6 separate regions of the Homo sapiens genome follow, and regions 1, 2, 3, 4 and 6 are each linked to region 5. Evidence: promoter capture Hi-C in 16 types of primary human blood cells and fetal thymus (Javierre and others, 2016). All regions are on one chromosome and are shown on one strand. The core of a region is centred on a gene start or on the middle of the fragment in contact, and the rest is flanking DNA. Distances in the headings are between cores, read along the strand shown.

Region 1 (3,025 bases), core at 236-2,735, 1.9 Mb before region 5:
TTTTCTTTCCCCCCTGTACTGCTACCTGAAAACATCGGAATTTGCTGTGGAACGAACAAGATTTCTTCTAAGAAATTACCCCCTACCACCATGACTACATAAAATAAGGTAATTCCCAGCAAGAATATTATGCAGATACTAAAAAGAAAACATGCTAGGCATGGTGGCTCACGCCTGTAATCCCAGCACTTTGGGAGGCCGAGGCGGGTGGATCGCCTGAGGTCGGGAGTTCGAGACCAGCCTGGCCAACATGGTGAAACCCCGTCTCTACTAAAAATACAAAAATTAGCTGGGCATGGTGGCGCACGTCTGTAATCTCAGCTACTCGGAAGGCTGAGGCAGGAGAATCGCTTGAACCCGGGAGGCGGAGGTTGCAATGAGCCGAGATAGCGCCACTGCACTCCAACTCTAGCTTGAGCAACAAAGCGAGACTCCGTCTCAAAAAAAAAAAAAAAAAACAATGACACGAGGGAAATGCTTACAATGCTCAATGAAAAAATGAAAAGAAAGGTTATAAAGTTTTAATATACGATTTGATCTTTTGAAAATAATGGATATATAACTTAAACGGAAATGTATCATTAAATATAGCAACAGCGTCTTCCAAAAAATTTCAAAATCGGGCTTAATGCCAATTACACGATCATAATCCAAAAACCCTTAACTGAAGCAAAGACAGTGATTTGTAACATCTGAACTGTGTGAAAGGGGTGGGGGTGATTCAAACAAGTGTCATCACCTTGTCCAATGATGAAGGAGAACGTGTATCAGTTCTGCATTGTGAAATTCTCAGTATGAGAGCGTGTAGTGGCTAAGAAAAGCAGTGGGCGAATTAGGAAACAAAGAGAAAAGCCAGCGACATCACCAGTTCTGGCCTCCTTCCCACCGGAGGAAAGGGGAGAAGGCGGGTAGTCATCAATTCCAGGTCCAGCCTAAGTTCTGGGTCCCCGGCCCCAGCGAGAGCCTCGCCTCGCCTCGCGCGCCTGCGCGGAGCGGGCTGGCTTCCTGAACGGCCCTCGCCTCTTCACCACCAGGGCCGTCCACCAGAAGTTTCTAAACGGGTGAGAGGCGACAACGCAGTGCAGCTGGGTTAAAGGAAGGAGGCTGGTTTATCCTCCGCACTTACTTGGTACTCGATCTCCAGCGAGGCCTTCAGGGGCATGGGCTGGTAGAAGCACTCCTTCTGGCCGGCGGGAAGGGTAAAGGTGAAGTCGCTATCGAGGGAAGGTGTGAAGCCGGCCGCCCCAGGCAGCAGCACCGGAGGCAGAGCGGCCAGAAGGAGCACGGGGAAGGGCAGCCAGATCTTGTCGCCCATCCCTGCTGGGGCGATCCCGGGCTGAAAGAGGCGTCAGGTACTGTTGTCTCCGCTCCGCGTTTCCTCTCTGGACTCCTCGTGGTTGACAGGGAAATCTGGAGTCTGAAGAAACTCCAGGTGGCGGCCGCGGCGGCGGCGAACACTCCCTCCGAAAGAGAAGCGCAGTTCTCCAAAGGGTAGGGACTCTGGGCGGGGCTAGCAGTCCTATTCCGCAACCGCCTCAGTCTCGGCCCCCTCAGGCCAGGCGTGAGCGCCGCCCGCCTCTCCCCCTGACGGCCTCCGGTTCCCATGGCTTCCCCCACCAATGGGCATCATGGCGGTAATTGTGGGAAATGTAGTCCCGGGCGGGCTCCGCTAGTGGGCTCGGGCGCGCTCGCCGACCACGATCCCCGGCAAGCCCCGCGCCTTCGGCGGCGCCTCACGCAGTCTGCGCCGGGGCGGGGCAGTGACCGGGTAGGCGCGTCCCAACGGCTCCCGCGGCGGTTCGAATTCTGTGCTGCCGGGGTTCGCTGGTTCTCCGAGTTGTGTCCGAGGCTTCCACGCGCAGGGGCCCGGGAAAGGGTCAGAGGCTTCCTAACGCAGACTCGAGTGCGAAGCGCGCAGTCGCCGGGTGGGTCTCTCCCCAGCGACGATTTGGGTGGTGAGCGACTGCGCCTTGGCGTGGGGAAACCGGCTTACCTGGGGGAGTTCTGTTCCTTTCCCTCCCGGCACCTTGGATGCGCTGGGACTGGTCCTCGTGGTTGCTGAGCATGCTGCTCTGAACGGTTGTATTTTATTTGATGAAAAATAGGAGGCCGGGCGCAGTGGCTTACGCCTGTTACCTCAGCACTTTGGGATGTCGAGGCGGAAGGATTGCTTGAGCCCAGGAGTTCGAGGCCAGCCTTGGCAATATGGCGAGCCACTGTCTCTATAAAATTAAAAAAAAAAAAAAAAAGAGGAAACTGTCACTTCCGTCCCCCACCCCCGCCCCCGCTTCTTTCAGACGGATGTAAGATTAGCTGTGTCAAGCGATCTTGAGACAGGAGACTACTACATAAAGTTATGACTTCTTTCCAAAATGAGGAATCTTTTTCGACTACAGCCCATTGTATCACATACATAGGGTATAAAAGAACACTTGTCCTTCGTTTGATGGGTGTGCGTGTGCAAACCTACAAACACATTGTTAATTAGGGCCGAAAGATGATGTTGTTAAGGTCGGTGAGTAGGATGATGTGCTTTTCTAGGTATGCATAGTCAGTGAAGATAGCCTTTTTTGGGTAACTACTGTAAATTGAAGTTAAGGACATTCATTTGACAGTAAATGTCCCACTAGGAAAATGAAAACATTTTAGTATCAAATATATTCATTGCTACTGCAGAAGAGTTAGGGAGTTCTTTCTTTTTTTTTTGAGACCGAGTCTCACTCTGTCGCCCAGGCTGGAGTGCAGTGGCGCGATCTCGGCTCACTGCAACCTCCGCCTCCCAGGTTCAAGCAATTCTCTGCCTCAGCCTCCCGAGTAGCTGAGATTACAGGCGCTCGCCACCACCCCCGGCTAATTTTTTTGTATTTTTAGTAGATACGGGGTTTCACCATCTTGGCCAGGTTGGTCTTTAACTTTTGACCTCGTGATCCACCCGCCTTGACCTCCCAAAGTGCTGGGATTACCGGCGTGAGCCACCGCGCCCGGACTGGGAGTTATTTCTTGCATGGCAATACACAGATGTTGA
Region 2 (3,084 bases), core at 1-2,500, 1.2 Mb before region 5:
CAAATCTGGTGGCATCACACAGCAGGAGGCAAGATTAACTTGGTTACTATTTGGTTTTACCTAGAAGTGAAAATAAAATCATGATATCACTACTAAATTAAATATAATACCAAAAGTAGAAAGCAATAAGCAATAAAATAACTTAATTTTAGAACATATGAAAAATCACAATCCACAGTGATTAAAGTTTACAAAATACTTTTACATTAATATCTTTATTAATATATGCTTTTCTAACCCAGGTTAGTAGTAATAGGGAATAGGAATTCCCTATTACCTTTTCCCTATGTAATAGGGAAAGGAAGTGTAACACTAGGGGAACGAAAAAGCCAACAGTACTACACTTTTTTTTTTTTTTTTTTTTGAGATGGAGTCTTGCTCTGTCGCCCAGGCTGGAGTACAGTGGCGTGATCTTGGCTCACTGCAACCTCCACATACCAGGTGCAAGCAATTCTCCTGCCTCAGCCTCCCAAGTAGCTGGGATTACAGGTGCCTGCCACCATGCCCAGCTAATTTTTTGTATTTTTAGTAGAGACGCGGTTTCACCATGTTGGTCAGGCTGGTCTTGAACTCCTGACCTCAGGTGATCTACCCACCTCGGCCTCCCAAAGTGCTGGGCTTACAGGCATGAGCCACCATGCCCAGCCTGGTACTACACTATTAAAAAGTCTCCTGCTAGAACCATTTAACAATCTAATACATCTGCCTAGAACACAAACATGATTTTTGTTAGTTTGTTAAGTGTGATGGTTTCAGCTACAGAGCAAATAGTTCTTAAAGGTAAAGGATCAAATACAAGTAAATACCTTTAATGTTAAAGTATAAAATATGGCTATGAATCAGACACATTTTGAAAGAGAAGAATTGACAGCTTCCAGTAGCTACACTGGTTAATTTACATTCTGAATCATCTAAGTCTCTCCAATACTTTCTTGTCCTCATTCTGGCTATCATCAAGGAGAAGGGGAAATACTTTCTCTAGGTCTTCCTGTCCATAAGAAACTCTGAAAGCTCTGAAAAGGAGAAGGCTGAAGAAGAAGTAAAAGGAATAAAGAAATACTGAGAGTAAAGGTAAAACGCTAGTAAGTGACTTTCCTAATAATTTTGTAGGTTATTAGACCAGAGAGTGGGAATAATTAATTTATGACACTCACTCCATATCAAGTTGTATGAACTGACAGTCTTACACATCTTTGAATAACAGCAAAATATCTGTTATATATAAAATATTCCCTTACTTAGGAAATTAGAGCCATGGTCTAATAGTACCTAAAGAAAAAGAAGGTTTTTCTTTCTTTTTTTTTTTTTTTTTGAGACAGAGTCTTGCTCTGTCACCCAGGCTGGAGTACAGTGGCGCAATCTCAGCTCACTGCAACCTCCGCCTCTGAGGTTCAAGTGATTCTCCTGCCTCACCCTCCTGAGTAGCTGGGATTACAGGTGCACGCCACCATGCCTGGCTAATTTTTTTATTTTTAGTAGAGACAGGGTTTCACCATGTTGGTCAGGCTGGTCTCGAACTCCTGACCTCATGATCTGCTCGCCTCGGCCTCCCAAAGTGCTGGGATTACAGATGTGAGCCACCACACCCGGCCGTAAGGTTTTTCTTTAGGTATTATTGTTTTCAGCACATAAGTAGAACTGAAGGAAATGGCCTTAATTCATTTGGTATAAATGTTTTAACACACATCTTCTAGTATTTTTGTCACTCATTTTAACCAGGATTAACATTCAGTTCAATCAGAGATATATTTAAATAAAAACAAACAAAAACCTCAAATGATTTAGATAAAACCTGCCTCAAAACTCCTGCAGAAACAAAACAAAACTCCCACATGTGGAAAAGTCACCCCGCAGGGGTGGCCACTATGTGCATGATGCTCAACAGTGTGCAGCAAAGACTGAAAAGGGCAAGTTCTTCCTGGAGTGCTCATGATCCTGCCATCCCTCACCTGTGCCCACTGATACAGCTGTTCCAACTGTGTTTTGTCTAGATCAGAGGTACCTATGGCAACAATCTTTTTGCTCTGAACTAAGTTTTCTAATTCCTCCCAGTAAGGCTGTAAATGCTCCAAGGAAAGATTAACTCCATCTTCAATAGGAGGTGAAGCAATGATCACAGAATCCAGCTGTGCAACTCCAAGGACTGAACAGGCTGATAGGAAGGAAGACACAAAGAAAATAAATGCTTACATCATAAAAACAAATATTTCTAATGTTTTCAAAGTATCCCACTGAATTCTGTCCATATTCTTCACTTGTTTTCAAAATAACAGATTATTTCATAGTTTACTTTTCATTTAGAACATTTCTATCTTTCAAAAATGTGTAAGTGCCCATTTACCTACTTGCTCTGTGTGGCAGACAAGTGGGTTTCTCTGACCTGCCTTATTCCTAGGCAGCTTGCAGCTACTACTACATGCTCCTCTTTCTAGGGAACAAAATTTCTTCTTGTTTCCTAGGTCCCAGAAGTTTTTAGTAGCTCCCTTATCTTCATAAAATTTTCTTCTCCAGTTCTACTTGCTCACTACTATCGCATATGGATGATCACAAGAATTATGACCTAATATTCTGTAACTAGTAGTCACAGCAAAGAATAAGCTTGAGACACTGAAAAACTGAATGTTTGGTCTTAATCCATATTTATAGAGGTAGATAATTTCTTAATTCTATAAAAATAATTTAAGAGCTTATTTTAAATGATTATTCATTCTAAAGTTACATTAAAGAGCCAATTATTTAAGTTTTCAATATATGTAAATACTGGAATAATTTTTTATTTAAGTATTGAATAACTTTAATATCACAATAACCTAAGTGCTAAAAACAGATATACTTGGATTTTTTTTGGATTTTTTTTTTTTTGCCGTTGTTTGGTTTTGATATTTCACCTCTAGTACTAAAAGGGCTAAGAATAAGAACTTCTATCTCCAAACGGATAGTGAACATTTAAGTACATTACACCTTTTACATTCCTCTTGCATATCAAAATATGACCCTACATAAGTCAGTATGATTTTACAGAAGCCTTAAGAAACTAAGCTAGAACTTTAAAAGGTAAAATTGGAATCAACTCATTTTCTTTTT
Region 3 (2,700 bases), core at 201-2,700, 1.7 Mb before region 5:
ATGAATCTGATGAACCAAAGTGACAAAATGGATTTCAACAGTGTCTTGTTTAGTTTTTAGAAATTCCAACATCCCACTATTTATAGTATAGCCTCTTCTTCCACATGACAGTATGACAGACTCAGTTTTTTTACTTTTTTTTTTTTTTTATCTTTTTTGAGACAAAGAATCTTGTTCTGTCACCCAGGCTGGAAGTGCAGTGGCACAACCGCAACTCACTGCAGCCTTGACCCCCTGGCTCAATCGATCCTCCCACCTCGCCCTCCAGAGTAGCCGGGACTACGGGTGCCTGCCACCAAGCCTGGTGAAAAAAAAACCCGTGTTTCATATTGTCATATAGAAGAGGCTATACTATAAACAGTGGGATGTTGGAATATATATTTATATATATAAATATATATTATATATATATATATATATATTTTTTTTTTTTGTAGGGACGGGTCTCACTATGTTGCCCAGGCGGGTCTTGAACTCCTGGGCTCATGTGATCCCCCTGCCTCAGCCTCCCAAAGTGTTGGGTTTACAGGTATGATGAGCCACAACGCCTGGCTGACACACTTTTTTTTTTTTTAAATGCAATTTCTGTTTAGACCTTGACACCTGTTGATATTACTAGTCACTATGGAAAGAAGTAAAAACAGTTGCTTAAGATGCTCTAACACTTTTTTCCCCTGTAGAAGCCAACATGGAATACAACATGAAAACTGTCTAAATGGGAACCTTCTAATATAGCTCATTGTATGCCATGCATTTCCACTCCATTTCCACTATGTTGGAACTGACTTCTGCTTTCCTACTTAGCCATTAGGCGACTTAGTTGCCTCTAGGCAAGTAACTTCTCTGAAATGTTTCATTTTTCATGAAGTTTAAAAAAAAAAAGGTGAAGGACTTTAGAGAGCTTTGAACCGAATAAGGTCTATCAGACATCTTGAAAAGCTTTTTCTCCAGACGACGCAGAAACAGGCACACGGGGTTCTGCTTTCCCCACCTCCCACCCCCAAGCCCAGGTCCCATTCTTCTCACTTTCAATCCTCATTTGGGCTCCTAAAGGAATAGCAAAGAGAGTTATTTTATCAATACCAGCGCTCCTCTGTCCCCAAATCCAGCTAGGGAAGGTTTCGGAGGCCTCAGCTACTTGAGAGAGGGTAGAGACGATCCTTCCTCGCCTATCTACCCAGCCACCCACCCCTTCCCAGATGTAGCGTCCGGGCCCCAGACCAAGCGCGTGCTTGGAGCTCTCCGGTACAGTGAGGCGCGCGCTTGCCTGGCTAGGGTCCCTGTGAAGGAATGGGATCCCGAGGTGCTTGCCAGGACCGTAGCAGGCGGAAGCTGCTGGCAGCGCGAACGGGCGGCTCCCGCCGGCGTGGGTGGGGGAAGGGCGGCAGCCACACCCGGAAGTCGGTCCGGGAGGGAGGGGGAAATCTGAGGGAACGAGGCTTCCGGTGGCGCAAAGGGTGTCGGGAGCGGCTTCCTGCAAACCTTCCCTGGCATCTGGAGGGACCACCGTTGCCGCGTCTTCGGCTTCCACGATCTGCGTTCGGGCTACGCGGCCACGGCGGCAGCCACTGCGACTCCCACTGTGCCTGGCTCTGTCCATATTAGTTCCCAGGCGGCCGTCGCCGTTCCAGCAGCGGCAGCGGCAGCGGCAGCGGCGGACATGTTGTGAGGCGGCGGCGCGGGTGTCTGAAGGATGGTTTGGCCGAGGCGGCGGCAACGGCTGCTGGCGGCGGCGGCAGCGGCAGCGGGGCCTCGGGCTCTATAGAGCCGAGCCCGCTGGGTACCCGCCCGGTACCGCGGCGAGGCCAGTGCCCCTGGATCTTGCCTCTGCTCCGACGCCGTTGGGGACCAGTTAGGCGACAGCGCCCGCCCCTCTGAGGAGACACGAAGGTGGTTCCCCAGCCGCTCAAATTTCCGGACCACCGCGCTTTCCCCTCCTCAGCCTGGGCTGTGCTCTCTCTAGAATCCTCGGGCCCCCACTTTCTTCCCAAACTCATCCTAAATCTCTCACACACGCGAGTGTTCCCAGCCCTCAAGCCAGCTGCTCCTCCGTTCATTTTCTGCACCCTCTTCGCAAAGCACCCCCCGGGATCACTCTCCGAGGGCGACTTTTTGAGAAATCTCGGTGGAGTAGTGGACCAGAGCTGGGGAGTTTTTAAAAGCCGGGGCGCGAGAAACAGGAAGGTACTATGGCTTCCTCGTCTGGCAACGATGATGATCTCACTATCCCCAGAGCTGCTATCAATAAAATGATCAAAGAGACTCTTCCTAATGTCCGGGTGGCCAACGATGCTCGAGAGCTGGTGGTGAACTGCTGCACTGAATTCATTCACCTTATATCTTCTGAAGCCAATGAGATTTGTAACAAATCGGAAAAGAAGACCATCTCACCAGAGCATGTCATACAAGGTAAGTCGTGTGTGAGAGCTGGTTTGAATGAGGTTCTAGGGTAGCAGTCTGCTAATCGCGTGACCCTTTCGTGTCAAAGCCTCCATTCCTCTTCCCTGGTAAGTAACTTAATGAAAAAGCCAGACTGGCATGTAGGCAGCCGGTGCTTTAAAAACAATCCCTTTGTAGCATTTTTGCAGTACTTTTCATCCAGCGAATACATGTAAGGAGTGCAAACATTTAGGTCAGCGTCCCCAAAACGTAAAGAATAAGAGTGATCTCACTTTACAGCCAGGTAAGCCGAAGCAACAA
Region 4 (2,937 bases), core at 321-2,820, 1.2 Mb before region 5:
TGGTGCTCAGACACAGAATAATTTGACTCTGCCTCAGAGGTTTCTCCATCCGTAGATGGTTCAGTCCCCTTTGGTAGTGAGCCTGTAGTTCTGCTCTTCCTCTTTCTAGCTTTAGGAGTTCTAGGGATTAAACTTTGCTTCCCAGTGGTCTGTGATTCAGCAGTAGTTCGGGCATCAGATCCAGTACTACTTTCTGGATGCGCTTGAATCCCATTAGCAGCAAAACTCTGCAAACCAGAGAAAACACACTGTAATTTAGGTAGGGCTGGAACAAGGGCAAAGCAAATGAAATACTGACCCCAAAAGCTAAAACCCAGTAAACAAGATTACCTTTAAAACAAAAAACAAAAAAACCTGCCCAACTCATGATTTTTAAAAAATCAAAATTTGGCCGGGCGCGGTGGCTTACGGCTGTAATCCCAGCACTCTGGGAGGCCGAGGCAGGTGGATCACGAGGTCAGGAGTTCGAGACAGCTTGGCCAACATAGTGAAACCCCATCTCTACTCAAAGTAAAAAAATTAGCGGGGCGTGTTGGTGCGCACCTGTAATCCCAACTACTCAGGAGCCTGAGGCAGAAGAATTGTTGGAATCCGGGAGGCAGAAGTTGCAGTGAGCCGAGGCTGCGCCACTGCACTCTAGCCTGGGCGACAGAGCAAGACTCCGAATCAAAAACAAACAAACAAAAAAATCAAAATTTAAACACTGGAGCCAACCCTGCATTTACTTCACTAGCCTCATCCTTCCTAGATGTAACTTCAGAAGCAGAACGATTAAAATTTTTCTGTTTAAAGTCAAATATAATGGGTAGACCAACATTCTGACCCACCTATAGAAGAGGGGAGAAAGGGAATATTAACTCTGAACACCGATGTGTTTAGGAACACACTGATGGAATCAGTCGCCGCCCTTACCTTTACGTACAGGAAAAAATCGCCGCCGCTCCGTTCCCTGCATCGCTGAGTCAGAATGAGACAGCCGACTAACGCCACTAAGAGTCACCAGGCGACGACACCACAGCCCTCCTCACGCCTTAAGGAGGTGATGCTGGACAGCTGCCAGCCTCCCCACGTGAAAACGAAGCTTTTTTTCCAGCCCCCCTAAATGGGGCTTGTGCATGGTGGCCGAAATTAACCCTCCTTGGTACCGTGTTAACAGTAAGGTTTAAAAGTTCGAACTGTGCTTCTGCATTAAGGAGTTGAACGACCCAAATAAAGTTATCTAACCTCTCTTCCATACTAAAAATTGCCTTAAGAGACAGTGGTGAAGGCTAAACAGTTTCCGTGACAGGCTTAGCACGGGGCCTGGGAGACCCAAGCGCGCGGCAAGCTCGGGTCCTCTCTGTCGGCAGGTCCTCACCCTTAACCGGACCCTTGCGCCGCCCCGCCTGCCTGAGCGCGGCTCTGCGAAGCGGCGAGAAGTAGGGAAGACTGGATTTCCTACCTTTTGCCCGGAACTTTCAGCCGACGCGGCTTGGATGCTGGCCTTAGCCCGTGCAGATCTGGTAACCACCATCTTTCCGGCTCCCTCGCGACCACCACGACTTCCCTCTTCCCTGGCGCTCCGGAAATGCGTCAGAGAACTGCCTCGAGCGCGTTTTCCGCGCAGATCCGAGAATTCGCGAGAATCTCCGCCCAGCCAGTTCAGGCCAGGGCGGTCAGAGACAAAGGGCCTGGGTTTAAGTGTGCATTTCAGAGCTGTAGAAGGCAAGCCAGATTTTTGCTGGGAAAGACCTTCATCGGGGCGGCGAAGCCCGCAGTGACAGAGGGTCTTAGCGTACCCGTTCACATGAATTGTAAAAACGCACTTACATGCCATTCGTTCTTTCATTTGTTTAGTAGAATCGTTTGAACCCGGGAGGCGTTCTTTCATTTCTACGTTCTAAAGAGCTTAATGTAGCCATTGGTATGTCCAAGGGAGAAGTTTGAGATATTTGTGCTTTTTAAAGAAAGACAATATTTACTCGTGTATTGTGACGCTAACTATAAATAAAATTTAAGGACTTGGTTGGGGTAAAAGGGATATAAGGTGCTCGCAGGAACTGGGAGACGAAGTGGAAAGCTGTATAATCTAAACGTGAGATGGTGTTTAGGGATTGGGAATAGCAGAAAAGAAAAAAACGTTAAAGAAATTGTAAAGGAGAAGAATAAGGTTTTGTTGTTGTTGTTGTTGTTGTTATTGTCACAGTGAAAGGAAGAGTATGACCAGAATCAAGAGGTTTCTTTGGTTATCTTTTGAGATAAAAGGTAGAGAACTATGTTTGAGGGGATGGGAAGGGGTTGAAAAAATAAGTAAACGCAAATTATTGTTGGAGGTGAGAAAGGATGAATGAGTGCCTCACCAAACCTAGTCTCTACTTCATGACAGAAAACCAATTTTTTATTTAAAGTCACAGAACACTGTGTCGATGGACACACTGCTTCCCAGCTTAAAATAGCTTATTTTATAGTCTCTCTTGCAGCCAAATGTGGCTATGTGACTACGTTTTAGCCAATTAGGTATAAATTGTGTGCATGTCTTTAGGGACGGCATCTAAAAGAGAGGAGGCCGTCCCTGACTTTTTTTTTTGGAGACGGAGTCTTGCTCTGTCGCCCAGGGTGGAGTGCAATGGCGCAATCTTGGGTCACTGCAACCTCCGCCTCCCGGGTTCAAGCGATTCTCCTGCTTCAGCCTCCTGAGTAGCTGAGATTACAGGCGCCCGCCACCATTCCTGGCTAATTTTTTTTTTGTATTTTTAGTAGAGACGGGGTTTCACCATGTTGGGCAGGCTGGTCTTGAACTCCTGCCTTCAGGTGATTCACCCGCCTCGGCCTCTCAAAGTGCTGGGATTACAGTGCTGGGATTATAGGCCTAAACGACCTCGCCCAGCCCTCCTGATCTTTTAAAGTGCATTTTACTTCCTGGAAAGTTGGGTTCGCTGGTTTTCAGGCGGCAAGTTT
Region 5 (2,747 bases), core at 136-2,635:
AAATACTCTTTACAATCTGGACTCAGTTTACCTCCCTACATTGAACTCTACACGATAGTGTTCTCTCAACTCTGGTCATTCCAAGTGTTATCACCTTCTTTTCACATCCTCCCAGCCCTCGAAACCCTGGCTGTCCCTCATCTGACTAATTCTGGGTCATCTTTCAAGTTTCAGTTTAGCATCATTTCTTCCAGGAAGCTGTCTGTTTTTTAAGACCTGATAAAGTAGTGCCCTTCCTGAAGACTGCCATAGCAATTTGTACTTCTTACACAATTATTACAAGATTATAGCATTTATCTCATTGTGGCAAATACTCATTTTGATTTATTTTCTGTTAGTTTTTTTGTATTCTCTATTTCATTTACTGCTGTATCTTTGCATCTCTCACAGGACTTAGCACGGAGTCAGCACTCCGTGGCAAGTAATGTTAGTCAGTTTTGTTATTTCCAGAGGTTAGTTTAGTGTTTGGTCTTTCTAACAGCTCAAAACAGATTAAGTGAATAAAGTAATGCGTTATACTTGAACATAAACTTAGTACATTTACTCATACTATACATGTTCTATCTGGATGCAATCTCCTGCCATACCCAAATGTTTACATTGTGTCTGTGTGTGTCTGTCTGTCCCTGTCAAATATGTGTATTTAAAATTGTAAGCACCTACAGAGTTGGTGGATTTAGATTGTATTACCTGACAGGTCAGTGTGTTGCTCACACTCTGCCACCGCGTGTGTATTGTTCTACAGCCCGTAGATCATTGTTTTTATCCTCTTGGACTTTGTATATTTATAAATGTGACAATTCATTTTGCCTCATTTGTCATGTAGCATTCGTGTTTCCTAAACTAAATACGCAATACCTAGATTAATAATGCACAACAGCCATACGGGGAAACTGCATGTTTGCATCAAAAGGCTTCTACGTTCTCTGTTCACTAATTGTTTGAAAAATATACGCTACAGAGAGTCTTAATTATAGACAAGTGTAAATTACTTGTCATAAAAAAAACCTCTGGGCCGCGTCAGCAAACCAGCCCCTACCCTGGCTGGACTGCCCGGTTCCGGCAAGGCAGAGAAACTACAAATCTCTGCATGCAACACTCCAAGAAGTGCTAAGGGTACCAGGGAAGAGCGTCGCGGTGCACTCTGGGGTTTGTAGTGACCAACCCAAGTCCGACAGTCGCCTCCTCGATACTTACCGGACCCAGCCACTACCAAGATACTGAGAGACTCCCGGGGCGTAACGTCCATGGAACGAAGCACTACCCATATTCGCAGGATTAGGAAAACCGCCACAGCTCCTGCGGCCGCAGCTAGAACGAGAACGCACACCATGCAGAGAAACGGCGCATGCGTCCAACTTCCGGGGACCAGCCGCTGTCAAAGTTCACAACTACGGGTGCCGAAGCGACTCAAACGCGGAGGACGCACGTCTTGGTGGGCTGGTCTTTCCTGAGCTGGGAGGAGTGGAGGCGACGGAGAAGCTGAGGTCCCAGTCACAATCCATTTTACCTCATTTATCATGTAGTATTCGTGTTTCCTAAACTAAATACGCAATACCTAGATTAATAATGCACAACAGCCATACAGGGAAACTGCATATTAGCGTTAAAAGGTTTCTACGTTCTGTACGTTCACGTTTGTCAGCGGAACCCCTGCTTCTGCGCGGATTGTGCGCAGCTGCAGCCAAGCGTAAGCTGAAAATTGTAAAGTTAAGCGCTGGGGAAGCTTGATTTACGCCCACGACGAGGTCAGGCAGTCTCTGCGCCCTAAAGGTCCCGAAACTCCCCAGTTAGGAGGTGTTCTGGCTCTGTCAACTTCGTGAATGCCACCTGAAGCTAAGGGAATACATCCTTTCTTTCTTTCTTTTTTTTTTTTTAATGCCAAGAGAAATGTTTCTGTTGCACACAGACATTACTGAAAGTGTTCGCCAGTAAGGACCCTAGGCTTAAACATCGAATTTAGGGCCCTCATCCAAACCCCCTGTCTCCCAACATGTATGTTTTTAACTTTTCTCGAGGTTTTCACAGCTCTCAGTGTGACCAGAGTAGTTGAGGGTGACCACCTAAAGGTAAGCCACACTCCTAAGAGGATTGCAAAGCTCAGTGGCTCTAGGTAGCAGGATAGACAAGGCACAGTCCTACAATTAATATTCAGTTAATTTTATCACAAAGCATTTCCAGTGTGTTTCTCATGTCCTCAGCCAAAATGATGATCTGCCAACACCCCCTTCAATCTCAATTTTGCTTATGTCTAATTAATTAATTGTTAATAAATTAATTATGTCTAATTAATCCACATTACGACAACATAAAATACTAAGATCAGGAGCCCCTTCACCCCAAATATAATTTGCCTTCGGTCCACCATAGACCTACCTGTAGGTTATATTGAACAGGTATACAGATGAGTAAAAAGGTTCAGAAAGGTGCAACTGCTTGCCCAAGTGGAATAGCGTCAGATCTAGAATCAGAAACCAGAAATCTGAGTCCTGCTGGACAGGAGTACTGCATCCTGTATTCCTTTGCTAAATTCAAACTTGCCTGATCACCACACTTACCTGGAGCCTAGAATGTGTTATTAAAGGTGCAGACTCCCAGGGTCCATTAGGAAACACTGAATCAGAATTTCCGGGGATCGGGCACCTGGGATTAGCTTATGTAACCAGCGTGTCCATTCCTATCAGCAAGCAAGTTTGGGAGACTTTGTGAGTAGAGTCCGTGGACCTTACAACACTTTCCAAATTGTC
Region 6 (3,040 bases), core at 464-2,963, 1.2 Mb before region 5:
TGCTGCATCACAACATGGCAAAGGAGATCAAAAGGGAAGTGGACATGTGTGAAGGGGGAGAAAAACCTGAGGAGCATCCTGTCTTTATTACAACCCACTCCCTGGAAACCAATCCATATCCATGAGAAGTAATCCAGTCTAGCAACAGTGAGAACACATGTACTACTATGAGAGTAGCACGAAGCCATTCATAAAGGATCCACCCTCATTACCCAAATACCCCCCACTAGGTCTGACCTCCAACACTGCCACACTGGGGATCAAATATCAACATGCATTTTGGTGGGGACAAACTAACTCTATGCAAACCATAGCACCTCTCCATTACTAGTGTTGAAAAACTTGATACTAAGTAGCCCTCCCCTTTCTAGTCATTTATAGTCTGCTACTGAAGATCTGAGAAAAACGGGATGCTAACCTTACCATTCTACAAACGCAGTTATTATACAATTACACTGTCAGGGATCCAGAAGTAAATAATTTGCATTCAAGGGCAGACATTCCAAGCAAGGAGGGCAATTTCAGCCGGTGTATTTGCTACTGGTTGTGACTATCTACCTGATGTCTTGAGATATAATAAAATGCACAGAATGGATCATTTCAAGGAAAAAGTGGGCAAAGACCAAAAAATAGTGAAATAGTGAAATAAGGAGCATCCCAGTGGACCTCCATGTCCTTCAGATGAACTGGGACACATTCTGAGTCTAGTTCCAAATTTCAGTTATTTAGTTATAAATAAACAAAGCAATGGCAAATAAAAACTAAAAAGTGCCAGGCGTGGTGGCTCACGCCTGTAATCCCAGCACTTTGGGAGGCCGAGGCAGGTGGATCACCTGAGCTCAGGAGTTTGAGACCAGCCTGGTGAAACCCCATCTCTACTAAAAATATAAAATTAGCTGGGCGTGGTGGCATGTGCCTGTAATCCCAGCTGCTCAGGAGGCTGAGGTGGGAGAATCGCTTGAATCGTGGAGGTTGCAGTGAGCCGAGATTGTGGCACTGCACTCCAGCCTGGGCAAAAAGAGTGAAACTCAGTCTAAAAGAAAATAAAAAGAAAAAAACTAAACTAAACTAAAAAGTGGGCAATGTATCTAGTTAGATTCAGAAAGCTGAATGACAAACAACAAGATCTCAATTGGGACAAGGATTGCTGATCTCATCTATGGGTCTATAACAGGAACATACCATGGGGAAACAGCAGAAGTTGTGAAAGCTTAGATACCTCTGGCTGGAGGATTTTCTTTATCAATCAGCTTGGTACTCAAGTATGGTCATTGCCTAACTGAGGTCGTGGGCCTGATCCTTCTGACTCAGAAGAAGGAAGGCAGCCAGGAGTTATTCATCTGCCTCTTTTAGATTGGACTGAATCTACATTCTGTTAGACACCATTAGCAATATAACTTTTCTTCCTCAGTTCCCTCACAAAATGAGAAGTAAAAGGTCATAGTTTCCTCTGAAGTAATTTTTTTGGGCCAATATATCAGATTGATTCTGAGCTTTTTGATGGAGTTTTGAGATTTGCTTATTAAGGATTTAAATTCATGCTAATAACAGAAGCCCAAGTGGAATAATGAGAGCTTGAATACCTAAGCCCTAAACCAGTGCATTTTAAACTTTAGTGCAAATGAGTCACTGAGGGGATCTTAGTAAAATACAGATTTGATTCAGCAGGCCTAGGGTGGGGCCGAGAGCCTGCATTTCTAATCTGCTCCCAGGTCATGCTGATACTCCTGGTTCATGGTCAGCATTTTTGCAGGAAGGGCAGAGGGCATTATTTTCAAATTTGGCTACATATGAGAATCACCTAGGGAGTTTAAAAAAAATGCTGATGCCAGGGTCCCATCCCCAGAAATTGTGATTTAACTGGCCTCAGGGTGCATCCTGGGCATCAAGATTCTAGAGCGTGGTAGAGTTTGAAGACCGCTAGTCTAACAAGTCTGCTCCCAGTTGCTTGCTGATTCTCTCCTGATTTCTTTTCTAGGAGAAACTGCTGTAGTCCAGGGTATATGTGAACTTGGGGACAGGTGCCTGGATTCAATCCTGCTGCTTTCCCTGTGGTTTGCCTTCCCATCTGGGAATGGGGCAATGATCCTGCCTACCTTAGAGGGTTGTTATGAAGATTAAGTGAGGTCTGATATACATGAAGAACCCAGAAAAGTGCCTGGTGTGATGCGTTATTACTTCATTATTATTTTCAACTGCTAAACAATTAAGATTCACTAAGCTTTAATAGATGGTTATTTGTTGTGAGGCCCACGAGTGGGGCTCAGAATGCCTTTCCTTCCAAATATGCTTACCAGAAGAAGTCATCCTACTAGTTTGTTGAGAACTTAAAAGGCAGAGATGTCATTCTGAGGGGAAGAAATTTAAGACCTACTCCCCCAAACTGGGTCACTGAAAGCAGGAATTAGGACACTGAAGATCCACTTCTACTTCCACAAACGCATTCAGGCATCATTTATGGAGTGTCCACTGTGTACATGATATTCTGCCAAGCCTTGGGGAGAATTACAAAACAGTTAGAAAGCACGGATGTTTAGCTTTCAAGAGCTTCTGGTCTAATGCAGAAGATAAGCTAGGCACATAGTCAAGTAGCTTCCTTATTGCCTACAGGACTCATTCATTTGTTCAATCAATATTCAAAGCTACTTGTTGTGAGCTAGCCACAATGCTAGGGACTGAGGTTACAAAGATAAAGGAAAAGAAGACGTGCTCCCCCCACTTTCCTCCCACTCCCCCAAGATGCTTATTGTCTGGGAGAAGAGATAGAAAACCACACAGAAAATTATAGAGCTTTGAAAGTACCTTGGGAATCCAGGAGTCCCTCCCCACCACCAGCAGACTAGGCTGCAGAAGAATGTCTGGGAAAATTCTCGGAGGAGGTGACATGGGGCTGCTCAACCCCAGGCTCCTTAGCCTTGCATTTGAAGCGCTTCCGGATCTTTGCCCCACTGACTTTCTCAGCTGTATCTCTTAAGTCAAGCCCATTTCCTATACTCATTCATGCTCTGCTGTCTGACTTTGCTCAAGATTGCAAGGTCCA

Evidence for each region. The method cuts DNA at HindIII sites, captures the fragments that hold promoters and counts their contacts. A CHiCAGO score of 5 or more calls a contact.
Region 1: the fragment with the promoter of TMED5 here is called in contact with the fragment with the promoter of ALG14 in region 5 in 1 of 17 cell types (naive CD8 T cells); the score reaches 8.2 in naive CD8 T cells.
Region 2: a contact is called between a fragment that was not itself captured here and the fragment with the promoter of ALG14 in region 5, in 1 of 17 cell types (naive CD8 T cells). The highest score is 5.5, in naive CD8 T cells.
Region 3: the fragment with the promoter of DR1 here is called in contact with the fragment with the promoter of ALG14 in region 5 in 2 of 17 cell types (naive CD4 T cells and total CD4 T cells); the score reaches 7.9 in naive CD4 T cells.
Region 4: a contact is called between the fragment with the promoter of DNTTIP2 here and the fragment with the promoter of ALG14 in region 5, in 8 of 17 cell types (activated CD4 T cells, non-activated CD4 T cells, total CD8 T cells and 5 more). The highest score is 18.0, in activated CD4 T cells.
Region 6: a contact is called between a fragment that was not itself captured here and the fragment with the promoter of ALG14 in region 5, in 2 of 17 cell types (activated CD4 T cells and non-activated CD4 T cells). The highest score is 7.0, in activated CD4 T cells.

What each region holds. Positions count from the first base shown.
Region 1 is chr1:93,178,928-93,181,952 of GRCh38, forward strand. It overlaps TMED5 (transmembrane p24 trafficking protein 5), which reads right to left and starts at 1,486. Exons shown (of 4, transcript NM_016040.5): 1 at 1,127-1,486. The coding sequence starts at 1,315. CCDC18 (coiled-coil domain containing 18) reads left to right here and starts at 1,797. Exons shown (of 29, transcript NM_001378204.1): 1 at 1,797-1,925. RefSeq lists enhancers at 867-1,016, 1,887-2,096 and a silencer at 1,547-1,826. The HindIII fragment of the contact is 9,002 bases long and covers 1-3,025 here.
Region 2 is chr1:93,894,669-93,897,752 of GRCh38, forward strand. It overlaps GCLM (glutamate-cysteine ligase modifier subunit), which reads right to left. Exons shown (of 7, transcript NM_002061.4): 5 at 1,950-2,152; 6 at 1-60. Among named protein-coding and RNA genes, the nearest start is that of GCLM, 13 kb to the right of the region's middle. The HindIII fragment of the contact is 2,691 bases long and covers 1-2,596 here.
Region 3 is chr1:93,344,457-93,347,156 of GRCh38, forward strand. DR1 (down-regulator of transcription 1) reads left to right here and starts at 1,451. Exons shown (of 3, transcript NM_001938.3): 1 at 1,451-2,409. The coding sequence starts at 2,190. CCDC18-AS1 (CCDC18 antisense RNA 1) reads right to left here and starts at 1,355. Exons shown (of 9, transcript NR_034089.1): 1 at 1,268-1,355. RefSeq lists enhancers at 1,046-1,581, 1,951-2,020, 2,081-2,290. The HindIII fragment of the contact is 13,248 bases long and covers 938-2,700 here.
Region 4 is chr1:93,877,636-93,880,572 of GRCh38, forward strand. DNTTIP2 (deoxynucleotidyltransferase terminal interacting protein 2) reads right to left here and starts at 1,571. Exons shown (of 7, transcript NM_014597.5): 1 at 1,442-1,571; 2 at 1-227. The coding sequence starts at 1,513. RefSeq lists enhancers at 1,297-1,726, 1,578-2,393. The HindIII fragment of the contact is 5,310 bases long and covers 1,080-2,937 here.
Region 5 is chr1:95,071,566-95,074,312 of GRCh38, forward strand. ALG14 (ALG14 UDP-N-acetylglucosaminyltransferase subunit) reads right to left here and starts at 1,386. Exons shown (of 4, transcript NM_144988.4): 1 at 1,198-1,386. The coding sequence starts at 1,333. RefSeq lists enhancers at 828-907, 1,148-1,507. The HindIII fragment of the contact is 2,572 bases long and covers 1-1,724 here.
Region 6 is chr1:93,838,252-93,841,291 of GRCh38, forward strand. It overlaps a transcript of BCAR3 not described here. Among named protein-coding and RNA genes, the nearest start is that of MIR760, 7.1 kb to the right of the region's middle. RefSeq lists a silencer at 1,129-1,329. The HindIII fragment of the contact is 1,011 bases long and covers 1,209-2,219 here.